Regions from separate parts of the Homo sapiens genome. Here all the other regions are linked to region 2. The links are contacts of gene promoters, found by promoter capture Hi-C in blood cells and fetal thymus (Javierre and others, 2016). All regions are on one chromosome and are shown on one strand. Each heading gives the region's core, a stretch centred on a gene start or on the middle of the fragment in contact. The rest is flanking DNA. Distances are from core to core; before and after follow the strand shown. Region 1 overlaps LOC105377700 (a long non-coding RNA gene). Region 2 holds the start of FAM200C (family with sequence similarity 200 member C). Region 3 overlaps CLINT1 (clathrin interactor 1).

Evidence for each region. The method cuts DNA at HindIII sites, captures the fragments that hold promoters and counts their contacts. A CHiCAGO score of 5 or more calls a contact.
Region 1: a fragment that was not itself captured here is called in contact with the fragment with the promoter of FAM200C in region 2 in 1 of 17 cell types (naive CD8 T cells); the score reaches 5.5 in naive CD8 T cells.
Region 3: a contact is called between a fragment that was not itself captured here and the fragment with the promoter of FAM200C in region 2, in 1 of 17 cell types (neutrophils). The highest score is 5.6, in neutrophils.

The regions. Positions count from the first base shown.
Region 1 is chr5:163,339,367-163,342,464 of GRCh38, reverse strand. All of the region lies in intron 1 of LOC105377700 (a long non-coding RNA gene), which reads left to right. Among named protein-coding and RNA genes, the nearest start is that of CCNG1, 97 kb to the left of the region's middle. The HindIII fragment of the contact is 541 bases long and covers 1,387-1,927 here.
Region 2 is chr5:160,398,533-160,401,832 of GRCh38, reverse strand. FAM200C (family with sequence similarity 200 member C) reads left to right here and starts at 1,779. Exons shown (of 2, transcript NM_022090.5): 1 at 1,779-2,194. SLU7 (spliceosome associated SLU7) reads left to right here. Exons shown (of 16, transcript NM_006425.5): 16 at 1-192. RefSeq lists enhancers at 2,090-2,239, 2,133-2,818, 3,138-3,300. The HindIII fragment of the contact is 7,568 bases long and covers 1-3,300 here.
Region 3 is chr5:157,856,019-157,859,015 of GRCh38, reverse strand. CLINT1 (clathrin interactor 1) reads left to right here. Exons shown (of 12, transcript NM_014666.4): 1 at 1-86. The coding sequence starts at 46. Among named protein-coding and RNA genes, the nearest start is that of CLINT1, 1.6 kb to the left of the region's middle. RefSeq lists an enhancer at 1-241. The HindIII fragment of the contact is 223 bases long and covers 1,304-1,526 here.

The DNA of each region.
Region 1 (3,098 bases), core at 408-2,907, 2.9 Mb before region 2:
ACCAGGCAGATGGGACCTCGTATTTATAGAGTATAGTGGCAGGTGGCAGGTCTTAATCTTGGCTAGTTTTTGAAAGGATGGATATTTGTTTGAAAGAATGTTATAGCAGGCAGGCAGATAGTACCTGTGGGAAAATTTGGATTTTTTTTTGTTTTTGGCCTTGATATCCTTTGTACCTAGTATGGTGCTTATCATATAGTAAAGTCTTAATGTTTCCTTAAAAAAAATCGACATTTAGGATGCAGAAAGGCAGCTGGCATAAAGTAAATTTGGTAGCTGGGAGAGAGGTAACACATCAATAGACAGGTTTCCTTGGATTCAGGACTTTCAGTGGTAAAACTGAGATGATCCTGGGTGTAACAGCATAGTTGCTCACCCTAGCTCATGTGGATGAATTCAGAGAGGACAGTAAGAGTAAACAGCATCCCTTCTCAACTTCCTGCATGCCATATCTGGTTCAATTCAAGGTATATGGACAAGTGTGGCACCAATTTACTTGACTTAGATCGCCTCTAGTTTGTGGCTTCTCTAGGATGAGAGGTGAGGCTTCTATTAAGTCTCAAGTTGCTTCAGAAAAACCAATCGGTGTCCAGGTTATCATGATCAAAATGGCCATGAGAGACATGCAATATGCATTGATTCTTGGCCCAACAGAGCACATATCATTTGGTTGTTAATAATTTGGTCTTTGGGGTCAAAGGGACCTGGGTTTTCACCCCTGACTTCACATAATAGATTAGGTGAGTTACTTATTTCTCTGTTACTTCATCTGTGAAATGGGTGTAATAGTCCCTACATCAAAGGGCTACTATAAAGCCTAAGTACTAAGTGCTTTATATTCTTACTATCTAAGTGTAAAGCACTCAGTACAGCACCAGCCTCATAGCAGAAGACCAATTAATGATAGATAGATGCCATCCTATGATAAAGCTTTCCCATCTGCTTATGTGGGCTTAATGATAATACCTTAATATTTTCTAGACACAACTCTAGGTTTGAGGAGAACCCAAAGGTGTACATGGTCCAGAAAATAAATGAATTTGATTAAGACAAGCTAGTACATAAAATATGAGAAAATAACTCAAATTTAGAGTATTTTATGCACCCATTGAAGTCTGATAGGGTTGTACATTGTATGAATTATTAAAAAGCAATTCAAATCTGGAATGTTTGTGATTAGTATACTTTTACTGATAAAAGATAACTATAAAATATAAACTTATAATTTAAAATCTTTTTTTCCTAAAAGATGTACCAGTATGGTACCTCATATAAAAAGTACCTTATATAAAACCTGTCTATTAATATATTACATCTCTCCCAGCTACCAAATTTCCCTTATGCCAGCTGTCTTTCTGCCTTATATAAAAATTATTTATATAAGCTTTCCTGAAGATAGGAAAAATAATTCCATGCCTCAAAGAATTAATATAAATTCATTGTAACTGTCTTTCCAATTTATTGACAATAATTAATGTTAACTTTGATGGGAATATGATTACTGTTATCTACCTAAGTGAGTATATTCATTTCCAGAAAAGCAGATCAACCAGGTGTTTATGAACCATGAGTTTGCTGCAGCATTAAATGGGAGGTCTGCTAGTGGGTTTTGCTCTCCTTTCTGCTCCTAATTATCTGTAGTCTTAAACAGGTCACTTGTGCTCTTGTGTATAACTTTCTCATTTATTACTTTTATTTTGGGGGGGATGGGAGAATGATAAAATGACATATTAAATGTTTACTCTGGGCTGGACATGGTGGCTAATGCCTGTAATACCATCACTTTGGGTGGATCACCTGAGGTCAGAAGTTCAAGACCAGCCTGACCAATATGGTGAAATCCCATCTGTACTAAAAATACAAAAATCAGCTGGGCATGTGTCATGCGCGTCCATGTGTCAACAGGCTTTGTGTGAGCAATAAAGCTTTTTAATCACCTGGGTGCAGGTGGGCTGAGTCTGAAAAGAGAGTCAGCGAAGGGAGATGGGGTGGGGCAGTTTTATAGGATTTGTGTAGGTAGTGGAAAATTACAGTCAAAGGGGTTGTTCTCTGGCGGGCAGGGGCGGAGTTCACAAGGTGCTCGGAGAGGAGCTTCTGAGACTCATTGTCCAGGAGAAGGAATTTCACAAGATAATGTCATCAGTTAAGGCAGGAACTGACCATTTTCACTTCTTTTGTGATTCTTCAGTTGCCTTAGGCCATCTGGATGTGTACGTGCGGGTTTGGGCTCAGAGGCCTGACATCCCTGTCTTCTTATATTAATAAGAAAAATAAAACAAAATAGTGGTGAAGTGTTGGGGCGGCAAAAAATTTTGGGGGTGGTATGAAGAGATAATGGGTGATGTTTCTCAGGGCTGCTTTGAGCGGGATTAGAGGTGGCCTGGGAACCTAGAGTGGGAGAGATTAAACTGAAGAAAGATTTTTGGGTAAGGGGTGATATTGTGGGGTTGTTAGAAGGAGCATTTGTCATAGAATGATTGGTGATGGCCTGGATGTGGTTTTATATGAATTGAGAAACTAAACAGAAGACACAAGGTCCGAATAAGAGAAGGAGAAAAACAGGTATTAAAGGACTAAGAATTGGGAGGACCCAGGACATTCAATTAGAGAGTGCCCAAAGGGGTTCAGCATAATTACTTGCTTGGTTGGTGAGTTTTTGGGCTCTATCCTTGAGTTTTTTTTTTTTTTTTTTTATGTTGTCATATACCAGGCCAGGTTGATTTAGGTAAAAACAACACTCTTCATTTAAAAATATACGGAGTCTTTCTTTTTCAGCATTGAGTAAGTCGAGGCCTCAGCGGTTTTGGAGGAAAGCGAAATGCAAAGCCAGCAACTGTTTGTTAAAGAAGGATTAGAAATGGCTAGGAGAGAGTGAGTGAGATTGATAGTGTGGTGGAGATAGCCGGGGAGAGGTAAAGGGTGGAGAATAAGAGTGAGTATAAAAGAAAAGAATAGGACTTCATCAGGGTCAAAGTATTGGAGAGTGCCCTGTCAGCAAAGATCATCTATCCACTCCAAGAGGGAGTCAAGAGTGGTGGATTGAGGATAGTACCAGGAGATATCCTCTACGATGGTTTGGAGGAAATGTGTAAACCAGC
Region 2 (3,300 bases), core at 530-3,029:
TAGTGTCGAGCTTTAGATTGGTATGAAATTAAACAGCAATGCAAATAGATTTAATTCCTATTTACTTTAAGAATGAAAAACAATGTTCATTTTCCTACCTAAACAGGGTGGTTCAACATAAAGGCTGATGTTGTGTCCGTTTTGTATTTTATCTTTTGTTAAAGATACATAAATGACAATACTTAACTGTGAGTGGTTTGTAGCATTATTTCTAATATTTGGCAGAAAAGTTGTTTATGGGACAGGGAGGGGAACCTGGATTAGCTTCTGTGAGTTTAAGAAAATTTCAGCATCTTGTCACCTAACCTTTCTGGACCTCTTTCCCTCTTCTATGAGGCCTGGTTTACTTAGATTTAGGAAGAATTCTGTAATATCCAGAATCATGTCTTCTGTTTTATTTTGGAAAAGTAATGCCTAGCCAGCCTGGCCAACATAGCAGAGCCCTGTCTCTATGAAAAATACGAAAATTAGCTGGGCATGGTGGCACACGCCTATAATCCCAGCTACTCAGGAGGCTGAGGCATGAGAATTGCTTGAACCCGGTTCAAGAAGTTACAGTGAGCTGAGATTGCGCCACTGCTCTCCAGCCTGGGCAACAGAATGAGACCCTGTCTCAAAAAAAAAAAAAAAAAAAAAAGAAAAAAACATAATGCCTAGGACATTACTCAGATTGAGCTTTGATTTTATTATCTCAATAATAGCTGCCTTTTGAGTGCGAGAATTATGTACTGTAATTGTCATAATGTTATCTCCTTCCTCAAAAGAATTTCATGGGGTAATGGATGATATGTAAGTTTTACAAAAAGCACATGGAATTAACTCCAAGTAACCTGCACAAATCCTAACCGTTGGAGTCAGGACATGAAGCTAGCTGTGGGATTCTGAAGCCTACCCCTTTCTCTAGTATTGAAGGCCCTAATTTCTTGACCAACAAGGCTGGTCTTTAGCAGTTTCTTCCATCCACAAAAAACTTCAGCAGCCCGTCAATATTTACCAGGCTCACCCTTAACACCTGAAAATGATGTATCTGGCCCACATTCGTTGACGCCCCACCACTCCTCACACACACTAGTCTTATGGAATGCTTCTAACAAGATTGTACAAAAATGAGTAAACTCATTAAGTTTATAAGAATTCTGGAAAGACCCCCAAACAGGAAAGGGCTATATTCCGGTTTCTTTCAACAACGTTTCCTAGTTTCTACTTGGGATTTTTCTCTAAAACCTCTCTAATATGGGTTTATTTCTTTGAAATCATGTTGTTGAAAGAATTTAAAATAAAAATATTTCAGATATATGATGATGACATGGAAATTCATCCCTATGCTCCCACTTACGGAAAGTGGGATCAGCTTGCATAGGCAACAGTACACAAGCTATGGAAGCTCATCCTCCACTGCTGAAATGTCTAATCTGAAATTACAATGAGCTTCCTTCTCTTTTTCTCTCATTTATTCCACATGGAACATGGCAATTATCAGGCGTTTTATCTCCAAGCTCAAAGCCCGACACAATATAAAAGTTTAAGTGCTCTGCATGTTAAAAAGAACTATGTGGAGTTTACAGCCCCTTCCATTCCTGAAATTGTACAGTTCATCCTCTCTGGCAGACACAATAAACAAACGATTTCTTGTTCCACGTACACAATCTTAAAAAAAAAATTGGGAAGGGCTAGCGCGCATGCTCAATACTCAAGCCAGCCAGCCCATCCCACAGCCCTTTGCTACTGCGCCTGCGTGTGGGAGACGCCTCTCCCAGTTTGCGGGCGGGAAGCACCCTGGAGAACCCGGATGGAACCCGGGCCTGGCTGAGGCGGAGGTTGTTGCGGATGCTTCTCTCTCCAGGCGCACCGCAGATTCCTGCCCGGGGGTTGGACCCGAGGAACCGCCGTCTCTACTGGTTCCGACGGCCAGAGGCTGGGCCCTAGGCTGAGCGGAGAGTGGGACTGGAGCCTGAAACGGGCGCCTAAAAGAAGCCCGTGCATCCCATAGGCCTGCGCCTCAGGCTTGGAGACGGGCGGGCGGAGACCGCGCTGAGTCTTTTTTTTTTTTTTCCTAGCAGCTGGCGTTCTTATCTCACCCGGGAGGCTGTAAAAATCTCCGTCCTTAACAGTAACACCATCAGGTCCTATCAGTTAAGAGCTGCTTGTTATTTGCATGCATTCTTATAATTAAATCTCCTAACAACCCTGTAAGGTAGGTACTGTTATCCCCTCTGGAGGAACTGAGGCTTGGAAAGGTCCCATCCTGTAAGTGACAAAGCCACGATCCCAGGCGTTTGCCCCTGGAGCGTCTGCCCAGCCACCAAGTTCCTGCCCCCATTCTCCTGGCTATTGATTTTAACTGTAAAATGTAATGGTTAAATGCTCTGCCTCCCCAGACACCTGCGCCTATCATGATCTTGCATACGCAGTGGCTAGAAAGAAGTTGAATTGTATTTGGTTTGGAGTTTTAGGTTTACAGCTGCACTTTGGTGTTTTCACTGCTGGAATATATATATATTAGCATTCCCTAAATATTTGTTTTGTGAGTGTTCACTTTTAACTGATTTTTCTCATTTGTAATACTTTTTCATATCTACCCTTCATAAACTTGCAAAAACATTTTACTTTGTTATATCAGATCTTTCATTAAGCATCTGAAGATAATCTCTCAAAAGAATCATGCTTAAAATGAGTGATATCTATCTTAAGATAATGCTTTTTATCTTTTTATTATGGAAAGTTTCCAAAATACATTAAAATAGAACGGTGTAATGATGTATACCCATCATCCAGCTTCAAGAGTTACCAACTTAAGGCCAGTCATTTCTTTTATCTCCACCCCGCTTTGTGCATGTTTGTGAGTGTGCTGAAGTACGTATTTCAAAGGAATCCCAGACATCTTATTTCACTTGTAAATAATTGTCTGTATCTAACAAATGAGGACTTTTTAAAAACACAACCACAATACCATTATCATGCCTGTTTAACAATATCTCCTTATCATGATGCTTTTTAATGTTTACGTTTTTTAGGATATTGTAATTCCTAAATACCACAAAAGCGCAAGTGCAAATTGTGAGGTTCTAAAACACAAGCCTCTTGGGCAGTAAGTTCATCTTTGAGGCCCTTGAAAATTCTTGCCACCTGTTCTCCCTTTTTGAGGGTTATGGAGAAGAATACTTTAAATTGATTTTCCTAAAACTGTTCAAAACAGATAAATTTTAAATTAAAATATACTTGAGAGACATAGTCAAGGTGGATAGGAATGGACTCTTAACAGATCTTGTAATGATTTCCAGTTTGTTTTGTTTTTGAGAC
Region 3 (2,997 bases), core at 166-2,665, 2.5 Mb after region 2:
GGGGAGCAGGAGAGGGAGGCGGCGGACCGTCCCGCGCGGGGCACGATGTTGAACATGTGGAAGGTGCGCGAGCTGGTGGACAAAGCGTGAGTATCGGGGGGCAGTTGTGGCCGAGGCCCACGTGGGGGAGGGGGGAGGGGGAGAAGGAGCTGGCCTTGGGCTAGGGGTTGCCCACGTCACGCCCCCTGGCTCTGCCAGCCCCATCATGGCGGCGGCCCGCTCCTTCCCGGCCCCGGGCCTCATCCCCGCTGGCGAGGCTGGGGAGGGACCCTCCCTCGTTTTAAAAAAAAACATCCTCTTGGCCACCCTTCTCTCCTTTCCAGGCCTTCCCGTCCCTTCCCCTATTCCAACCCCTGGGTGCCGACGCTTTGGTCATAAGGGGCGGGTTGTTTGGCGCTGGGTCACTGCCCTGGCCGGAGGACTGTCTTGGCCCCAGGCCGTGGGCTTTGCCTCCTGGGGAGCAGGGAAGGTTTGGGGGTGGGGGGCACAATGCACTGGTTCCCTGTGTCCCTCAAGGTGTAGTACGGAGAGACCTTAGACCTGGTTGGGGTGTGTCTTTTATCTTCCTTGCCTCCTCTTAATTCCTAATGAACCTGAAGTGTTGGAGTGGGTGGTAGTAGTGTAACAAGTGGCTATTGTGGTCAGCCTGAAGTTACTCAAGAAGACACTCATCCTTTGCTTTTCTAACACTAGTGAAAGTAGATCACTATATGACTTCTTGCGATTTTTTCTTCTGTTTCTTTTTCCACTACACATCATTTTTGGTGTGCTACTTGTTCCATTCGATTAAATTAAGAGGTCATTAAGAAATGTCCTCTTAAGGAAAAAAACAACCCAGGTTTATATCCTGTTGATCTGCTTTTAAAAGCAGGTAAAACGACCAGTACGTAGTTGATTTCCTTTAAGACTGAAATAACTTTAGTCTCTTACTTGCACAAGGAAAACCTTAACTTTTAAAATGAGTATATCAGGTATAACAGTGGTTAAGTAAGGTCTTCTAGGCCAGCAGGAAATAAAGTTTAAGAATTTAAGCAGTCCTCTTCCTTTGGGGCTTTAATGATTATGCAATAAGTGTGGTGAGAAAAACAGTTGATTTGTGCCACCCACCTAACCTAAAATCAGGAAGTATAGATAGCAAACTGTTTTCTTGACACCAGGAAACAAAGTAATTTCCAGTGCCTTGTCTGATACATCAGATAGAACTTAGAGCTTGACCATATTTTTATATTTTCTGTGCTACCAAGAAGGCAATAGAGTGCCTAAGGAGCACAGGTTTCAGAACCTGCAAAGCTGGGTTCAAGCTTTATAACCTTGGGGAAGTTACTTATCCTCACAGTGCCCTAGTTTTCTCTGGTACAAAATGAAAATGCAACGATACCTACCTTAGAATGTTGTTGTGAGGCTTAAGGGTTAAGGGATTGTATTGCATATAAAGCCCTTAACAGAATATGTTTATATTAGTGTACTTTTGAAACTAGCAAATGTTTTGCATTTAGAGTGAAATAAACCTCTTTAAGAAAGAAGCTTCAAGTTTGAAAAGTGATTTGCTTTAATAATTTTCCTTTATAACAACTCATTTGGCTATTAAGGCTTCAGCTATTTATTTCGGACTATTTAGCTATTTATATATTCTTTGCTTTTGCTTACCGAAGATGAAATAAACTAGATCTTTTCCAGATCTAGGTTCATTGGCATTTTTTTAGTATATTGTGTAAAGATTAGGATATCAACTTAAATAGTTTTTTAAAGGCCAAAAGAAGACTAAAAGCTACCTTTTTTTTTTTTTTTTTTGATGGGGTCTCATTCTTTTGTGTGTTCATAACTCACTGCACCCTCCAACTCCTGGGCTCAAGTGATCCTCCCACCTCAGCCTCCCAAGTGGCCAGGACTACAGGCATGCATCACCGTGCCTGGCACTGCCTCCTTATTTCTCAGTCAGAGGTCAGAAGAATAAAACCATTAAGAAACACCTTGTTCTCTTAGAGGACCAAATTTGTGGTACTCAAAAATTTGAAGAGGCTGTACATTGTTCGTAAGACAGAAATCGAGGCAATATTCCTACTATTGTTGTACCTTTCATATTTGCTTATCACACTTGTTACTAATCTTCACGTGCTTTAGGTTAAATTTGCCATGTAAGTAGTTATCTAAAGGAAAAGCTATTGTTGAAAAATATTATCTATCTTTTTACTACCCAATTTAGGATGTAGACTTGAACCAAATTATTCAAGAACATAGAAGAATGTTGTCACCAAAGACTTTTTAAGGCTTTTGTGGGTGTCTGACACATATTAAGATTAGAACATGAGGTTGATTTACTGATGAGTACTCGGGATTTTAATTTTCATCTTTTCACTGGCAAGAAGAGAAGAAATTCTTCCCCCCAAATGTAAGCATCTTACAGAACCGTGGATCTGTTAGACTGTGCACCTTATAATGCCATAATAGACGTGCATCCATAGAATGGTTGGTCTGATTATCAGAGGTATAAAATGATGAAGGAACTTGCAAATGAAGAAGCAGTGACGTGATTAAGGGCTATTCAGATAGATGGATCAATAGAATGAGGGCTTCTATGAGAGAAAGGTTAGGGGTTTAACTATCTGGTTCATATTCTGGCATTACGTTTTTAATTAGCTGTATGTATGATTTGAGGCAGAATCACATGAATCTCCAGACTTTGCCTTCCTTATCTGTAAAATGAGGGGACCTGGCTAGAGTAAGACTTTTTCCACCTTTGATGGCTATTGGAGAAATGCATTTCCATCAAGGAAAAATAGTTGGAACTAGTTTTTACAATAGCAGACAAATTTTGGAGCCATTATCCTCTGTAGACAATTTAGGCTGAAAAGGGAAATTTTCTTAAAAAGTGGTAATCAATAAATGTTATACTTAAATATTTTATGCAATAAATAAGACCATGACTCAGGAAGACTAGGACTTTTAGTGTATATTGATACCCAGTGAGGTTTTACTTCAGAAAAAGAAATGTACTCT